2 separate regions of the Homo sapiens genome follow, and region 2 is linked to region 1. The links are contacts of gene promoters, found by promoter capture Hi-C in blood cells and fetal thymus (Javierre and others, 2016). All regions are on one chromosome and are shown on one strand. Each heading gives the region's core, a stretch centred on a gene start or on the middle of the fragment in contact. The rest is flanking DNA. Distances are from core to core; before and after follow the strand shown.

What was found. The method cuts DNA at HindIII sites, captures the fragments that hold promoters and counts their contacts. A CHiCAGO score of 5 or more calls a contact.
Region 2: a contact is called between a fragment that was not itself captured here and the fragment with the promoter of AMBP in region 1, in 1 of 17 cell types (endothelial precursors). The highest score is 5.1, in endothelial precursors.

Annotation. Positions count from the first base shown.
Region 1 is chr9:114,075,760-114,079,679 of GRCh38, forward strand. AMBP (alpha-1-microglobulin/bikunin precursor) reads right to left here and starts at 2,541. Exons shown (of 10, transcript NM_001633.4): 1 at 2,334-2,541; 2 at 839-981. The coding sequence starts at 2,450. The HindIII fragment of the contact is 5,279 bases long and covers 1-3,134 here.
Region 2 is chr9:113,716,726-113,720,685 of GRCh38, forward strand. No RefSeq gene overlaps it. Among named protein-coding and RNA genes, the nearest start is that of ZNF618, 160 kb to the right of the region's middle. The HindIII fragment of the contact is 2,484 bases long and covers 673-3,156 here.

The sequences.
Region 1 (3,920 bases), core at 1,291-3,790:
CATGTAACCTGAACCTGGGTGTCTGGGAGGGCTTCCTGGAGGAGGTGACATGAAACCTGAGTTCTGAAGAATCCACAGGAACTAATTAGCCCAGGGAAATGAGGAGAGGTGCTCCCAGTAAAAGGGACATCAGGTGCAAGGACCTGGAGGCGTGAGAGTTCCAGAACTGAAAGCAGGTTCACGTGAGTAGGACTCAGAGTACATAGCAGAGTGTGTGGCAGGAGTTCTGGGTGCTGGGAGGGTCCTGGAAAGCCACATCAAGAGTTTGAATCTTACTCCCAGGGCATTGGGGAGTCATGGAAGGGTCTCGAGCAGATGTGAGTTTTCAAAAGGTCTTTCTGGTTACTGGGTGAAGAGGGGATGGGGTGGAAGGGTGGAGGTCAGAGGTGAGGAAAGAGTAGAGAGGTTGTGGCAGACAACCAGGAAAGAAAGGGAGGTGGCTTGGACCAGGATGGTGGCAGTGGAGAGGGGAGAAGTGAACAGGTTGGGGGGGATTTAGGAGGAGAATGGGCAGGACTTGATGATGGGTGACAGGGGAGAGAGGAGCCCAGTTCCCAGGTTGGGTCCCTGGGGGGCTGAAGTACCCACACTGGGCTAAGGAATGCCCAAGGGGGAGGAGCAGTTTGCAGAACAGGCACAGTGCTGGGACACTGCCCTCGAGGAATAGATAGGACACCTGAAAAGGGCCGTCCTGGTGGAGGAGCGTAGAGGGATCTGGGGTTCAGCGGGAAGGTCCTGACTGGAAGCAGAGATCTGCAACTTCCCAGGATGGACGGGGCTGGGAAGGTTGTGGGTCTCTGGGTCTCTCTCAGCTTTCCAGCCCCACCCTAGTGCTCACCGCCAACGAGTGCTGGTCATGCTGATCTCCGCCTCTGTAGCGCCCTCTCCCAGCACCAGCGTGCTCACTGTCATCCTGTCCATGATCTTCTTCAGCCAGGGGCAGGTGGAACCGATGGCCAGGTTGTACCACTTCCCATAGATCTAGGAGGCAGGTGAGCTCTGGGGGTCTGCATCAGTCTCAGACCTCAAAGCAGACCTGGCTGACATCTGCTCCCCACCCTCCACCTCCTCCTCTTCCTCCTCCTTCTCCTCAAAATGACTTATCCTTTTAAGGGATAATGTCTTACAACTAATCAGAGGCCACACACCTTCAAGGGAGGCCAGATCCCTAAGAGTGGCGTTTCAGGCATCACAGCGAACCCAGGAAGCAGGTGTGCGGCTGGGGTCCCAACCTGCCCTGCAGAAGGGCTAACTCTCTCAAGATGTGGGATCTGTCCATAGCTCCATCAACCACTGCTCCCCAAGAGCTGGAGTCCTGTCTTTTACTCCTCCAATGATGGGGTGCTCCCCACCTTGCAAGGCAGCCCACAGCCCCATGTTAGGAATTATTTCAAAAGTATAATGAACATGATGGGGTCATTCAGGATAGGCCTGCTTCCTCTTCCTCCTGAAAGTGCACGGGACAGCTGAAGGAGCCCTCAGGCTCCTACGGAACAGGCCAATGTGCCCCACACCCTTTGCGTCCCAGACTGCCACAGGGACCTGCTCCTCATTGCCCCTCTGCCACGACCTTTCCTTGTCCCTAAAAGTAAACAAAACCCACATGACACCACAGCTAGAAGGTTCTGAGACCCTTCATACAGACATGGAGACAGCCCCAGGTGGGCAAGGGTATTCTCAAAGCCACCCCGGGATTTAGGGCAGAGTGGGGGCTGGAAGGCAGCTCTGGCACTCCACACTCACAGGAGAGTGTCCTGCCCCAGTCCAGGTCTCTCCTTGTGCCCAAGCCTCTGAATGTCTCCCAACCCTAATCTCTGTCCTGCTTCACCTCTTCCCATAAGCCCCACATGCCCAACCCAAAAGCTGCTGGCCACATGCCCACGCTGTGCCACCCCAGGTGTCTGTCCACAGTCAGGCCAGGATGTGGGCAGGGGACACAGGAAGAGCTAAGGGAAAGATGCCACAGAGAGAGGGGAGTCATTAGAGAAGGAAGGGCTGGGAGGTCTGGGCAAAGCTAGGTGTCTGCACGGGGGCTGCAGGGCAGTGGCAGGCAGGACAAAGCCTTCTCTGGAGCAGGTTCCCATTAACACAAGGGTTCCCCTTGGAGCCCACGAGGACAGTGCAGAAGGTGAGGATGTTTGACTCATAGAATGTCAGCCAAGAGACCCACGGAATGGCAGGGGATAGAGCTGTACCTTCAAAGGATCCCATAATCCCAGATGATCTGAGTGGAAGCCTGAGACCCCGAGACAGGCCGCACTTGCCCAGCAGGGCCCATCTGCCTGGACTCCCCATCACCACATCCACCCTACCACAGAGAGCGGCAGCCTTACCCGAGAGATATTGAAGTTTTCCTGCACTTGGATGTTGTCGGGCGGCGTTGGCACAGGGCCAGCGCTCACCGCCAGGCAGGCGCTCAGCAGCAAGAGCAGGGCCCCGAGGCTCCTCATGGCTATGGGCTCCTCTGCCTTGGTATATCCCACAGGCTCGGTCTAGCAACAGAAGGGCCACCGCCTCCCTGCAACAGGGCAGCTGTGAACTGAGGCTGGGGAAGGGGCCTGTGGCTTGTAGTTGACCTCAGTGTTTGCCCTGCTCAGCTGGGGCCAATTACAGCCCCAAGGACAGCTCCAATCGATCCCTGTAGCCTGGCTGGGGTCAGCAGTACCAAGAGGCCGGGATGGCTGCTTCAGAAGAGGCATTGGCCAAGCACAATAGGGCCCTGGAGCACCAGGATTGGGCTCCGCCCCCCAAAAGTCCCCCACAGAGGGCATGCGAGGATGGGGAGCGACCTGGCCTTTCTGCTGAGTCATGCCATCTGGACCTCACAGCTCTGTGAGCCAGCAGGTCAAGCCTGATTGGGCCCATTTCTCACAGGAAAAAACTGAGGCCCAAGGAGAGGAAGTGACTTGCCAGAGACCTCAGGGAAGTCTATGGGCAGAGCCAAGACCAGAACCCAGGTATCCTGTCTCCAGAGTTCCTTCTCCAGCCCCCAGGCTTGCCCTAGCCTTTGCAAATAATAGAGACATTAACAATGATGACTGTTACGAGCTTCCGTTCACTGAGCACCTGCTATGTGCTGGCTGTGTACCAGGCACTTTACACGTGCCACAGGTGTCCAGTAAATCCCCACAACAAGCTTACGAAGTAGGTGCTATTTGTCCCCTTTACAGGCAGAGGAGTTGAGTCTCCAAGAAGTGAAGTGACTTGCCCAGAATCCCTCAGCCGGGAGTGGAGTAGCTGGGAAAGGCGTGGTAGAGACCATGGACGTGGGAGCCAGGCAGCCTACAGTGGCACTCACTGCTGTGTGACCTTGGGCAAGTCACTTTACCTTTCAGTGCCTTGGTTTCCTCATCTGTAAATGGGGATAATAATAGTTCCTAGCTCCTAGCATTGTTGAGTGAGCACCTGCAATGCGCTAGGACAGTACCCAGCATAGAGTAAGAGCTGAGTGTTTGTGGTGGGTTGAACAGTGCCCCCTCCAGAATCCATGTGCACCCCGAACCGCAGAATGAACCTGATTTGCAGATGTGATTAGTTAGATGAGGTTGAACTGGATGACAGGGGTTTTAAATCCAATGACCGGTATCTTTATAAGAGAATGGTGAGGGAGACTCAGACACAGGGACACAGAGAGAAGCACGGGGAAGATGTGGCGTGACGCCGAAGGCAGAGATGGGAGGGATGCAGTGACACGTCAAAAATCACCAAGGATTGATGGCAGCCACCAAAAGCTAGCAAAAGGCAAGGAAGGACTTTTCCCCAGAATCTTCAAAGGGAACATGGCTCTGCTGAAAATTTGGTCTCAGGTGTCTGACCTCCAGTGCTGAGAGAAGACACATTTCCTAGCAGCCCTAGGAAACTAATACAGTAGTTATTAAACTTAAGGTTTTATTTATTTATTTATTATTTTGAGACGGAGT
Region 2 (3,960 bases), core at 665-3,164, 360 kb before region 1:
GGGTTGGCTCTTGTTCCAGTTGAATTAAGGCAGGGAGGCTGGGCCATTATCTCCCTGCATGGGCCAGCACTAGATTAAGTCACGAGGACTTCATCACTGCCTAAAGGCTCCACCGCTTAATACTGTCACATTGGTGATTAGGTCTTGATGTAACACACTATCACTAATCCCCTCATAAATGGGATTACACCCTTATAAAAGGGCTTGAGGGATTGGATTCATTTACTCGTATTCTGCCATGCGAGGACACAGCTACAAAGTACCATCTTGGTAGCAGAGAGCAGTCCTCACCAGACATGGAATCCACTGGCACCTTGATTTTGGACTTCCCAGTCTCCAGAACTGTGAGAAATAAATTCCTGTTCTTTCTAGGTTATCCAGTCTGAGGTAGTTTGTTACAGCAGCACAAATGGACAAAGACAGGGTGTCTGAATTGAGAGTTATGTTACCTGTTCTCACAGTACTCTGGGGCATGAGCTCCTCCAACATGAAGGAGGGTGTTTGTTGATGCACCACAGTTCCACTATGCAAACATCATCTCATTTTATCCCTTCTAGAATGTTGTAAAGTGGGCATGATTATGCCCATTTTACAGATGAAGAAACTGAAGCTAAGACCAATGGAATAACTTGCAAAAGCTCACAGGGCTGGCAGAGCCAGGATTCAAATCCAAGCTTGATGGGCTCCAAATTAGTCTAAGCTGTTCAATAACTCAGCTCCAAGATTTGGACCTTTGTTTTCGGTTTTCCTGTAACAAAGATCCCCAAGTGATGGATTTCTATTCTTCTCACTGGTTGGACAGGGGATGCCATGTTTGGCAGCTGGGCTTAGGGACACAGACAGCTAATACTTCACAGCTATTGTTTCACTTAATCCCTCCAAGGGCTCTGTGGGGTAGAAACTATTATTAACACTAGTTGACAGGTGAGAAAACTGCAGCATAGAGATGTTAAATAATTTGCCCAGACTCTTGCTGCTGTTAAGTGGTAGAATCAGACTTTGAATCTAGACCAGCTGAATTCAGAGTCTGGGCTTTGAACCTGTAAACTCTACCGGCCGCCTCAGATGAAGGATTATAGGTACTCAGTGGGGAGAGAGTGGAAGGGGCTGGAAGATGCAGGGAAGTCTTCCTGGGGGAAGTGTCACTTAATCAGAAAAGTAACCGCTGAAATGCTGGGTGCGGGGGCTCACGCCTGTGATCCCAGCAGTTTGGGAGGCCGAGATGGGTGGATCACGAGGTCGGGAGATCGAGACCATCCTGGCTAACATGGTGAAACCCTGTCTTTACTAAAAATACAAAAAATTAGCTGGGCGTGGTCGTGGGCGCCTGTAGTCAGCTACTCGGGAGGCTGAGACAGGGGAATGGCATGAACCCAGGAGGTGGAGCTTGCAGTGAGCCGAGGTCGTGCCACTGCACTCTAGCCTGGGCGACAGAGCAAGATTCCATCTCAAAAAAAAAAAACAAAAAAAACCCGTTGAGAAGGATTGAGTGTCTCCTTGATTCAGGCTCTGCATGTTGGCTAGGATGTAATGGGGAGGGAGAACTGGAGAGAGTGTTATGGATGATTGTACTGCAGAAGCGAAGGCAGGGAGGTGAAACTTGAATATACAGTGCACTGGGTACAATGAGAAAAGCAAGCCAGTGGGTGCAGCAGGCACATGACTGTCCCAAGAACATGGCAATGCACCCGAACAAGCACTTGGAAAAGCGCCAGAGCTGCCCTCCCCAGCATGTCTATCACTGCTTGTTCCTTAGCCTTGGAAGAGAGGAGGAATGTTTTCTCCTCCTTAGCTCCTTCCTGGCCACTGACATCTGCCACACTGACCCATACCACAAGCAAGTGCATGCTCCATTCTAGCCTCCTTGGCAGTACCTTTGGGCTTCATGGCTGCTTTCACTGAGTCCTTCACTTGGGTGAGCAGACAGGAAACAATCTGGGCCAGAGAGCTCTGTGCTCCTCAACTGACCAAGTTCCACTACGAAGGCTTCCTCTGAGCCTGGGCCCTGCCCTGGAGGCCCTCCAATGTCCCTGTATGTATGTCAGGGCAGAAGATACAACTGTTCTGAACCCTGGGGGCTGTCTCCAGATGATGCAGCCAAATGTATGTTACCCCAATCCCCTCCCACAAGGTTTCTTGTGGCCTGTGTCCTGGGGTCTACAGATTGGCCATAGAGTTGGTGGCTCCTGGAGAAGGAGGCTCTTGATGGGAAGGGCAAGATTTAAATTGATAAAGAGAAGAAATAAAAGAACAAAGAACAAAGTGAGCAATGGATCTATGTGGGCCAACAATCAGTCATTTATTCAATCAACAAACACTTCTTGAGTACCTACTGAAGCCAGAAAATTTTACAGGAAGGAAAGCATGTCAGCTTGGCTCCAAGCGGTGGCAAAATAATGCTAGAGCTATCTTGCAGGACCTCTCTTCCCCAGGTCCAAAACTGACCTCATGCTGTTCATCTCCTCCTTTTGGATTCCCTGTCTCTGTCAATGACACCACCAGACACCTAACTGCTTAAGCTGGAAAACTGGGCAATATCTCTGATTTCTCTCTCCCTCACGGCCCACGTTCAGTCATCGATGCCTCCCATTGAGCTGCCCTCTGATGGCTCTCAGATCTGGCTGCTGTTCTCCTCTCCCCTGCCTCAACTGTGGGCCCATCAGCTCTGGCCTGGACCTCTATAGTATCTGTGCTTTCACTCTCCCCTCCCTTCTGAACATTCTCTGCACCATGACCAGAGGCGTCAACTGAAAGCAAGTTTCACAGTGCTGTTTCTAGGCTTAAAATCCTTCACTGCTTCCCCTCCTGCCCCAAGGACAGTGTCCAAAGTCCTGTGCTGTGGACCGAATTGTGTCTCTCCCTAGAACTTATATGTTGAAGTCCAAACCCCAGTGTGACTATTTGGATATAGGGTCTTTAAGAAGTAATAAAAGTTTAATGAGCTTGTAAGGGTAGAGTCCTGATCTGATGGGATCAGTGTCCTAAAAAGAGGAAGAGGAGACACCAGGGAGTTCACTCTCTGCCATGTGAGGACACAGCGAGAAGGCGGCCATGTATCAGCCAGGAAGAGTCCTCACTAAAATCTGAATTGGTTGGAACCTCGATCCTAGACTTCCCAGTCTCCAGAACTGTGAGAAAATGCATTTCTATTGTTTAAGCTTCCCAATTTGAGATATTTTGTTAGTGTGGCTGAGCCAACTAATGTACCCTGCAGGGTCTGTCCCCTGCCTACTCTATCCAGCTCATTTCTCTCCATTTTCAGGCTATCACAGAGCTGCTCTTCCTGGAAAGCTTCCCTGGCCCCTTCTAGGAAATGCCATTAGTGTCTGTGCCACCTCCTGGCACTCCCGCCTCCATCTGCAGCTGGAGCTGGAACAGGCAGTTCTCATGCACATCACCTGTGTCCTACCACCAGGCTTCCACTCCAAGTACCTGCTGAAGCTTTTGGCTCCACCCTTCCTTCCTTCCTTTGGAAGGACAATTCTGAGGCATATTCTGAACAATTCTTCAGTCTCCTTGAATTGAGCCCTGGGTGGCCCTAAGTATATCCAGCTGGGTTCCACACCTGCATTGGCTTTGCTTCTTTCCCTTCTTCTGCTCTGCACTCCTCGGCTCTGTGCCCCGAGATCATTGCCCAGATAAACCCCCTGCTCCCATGTCCTTGCCTCAGGTTGGGCTTTCAGGGAACCCAAATCAAGACACCTCTCCTTTCATCCAAACAGGAGTAGGTCCCCTTCTATTATCCCTCCTTAAGCCAGGTACAATTCTTTGTTCTATTTTTCTGTCTAGGTGTCCCCCTCCCCAACTTCAGTGTGAGCTAGAAAAGAGAAGCGACCTGGCTGTCCTATTCCCAGCACACAGCACAGGATGTGGCATGCAGCAGGAACCTCAGTAGGTGTTGTGGAATAAGTGAATGAGAAGTAGGGTGTTCACGACAAAAACAACACACTGGGAACAGCA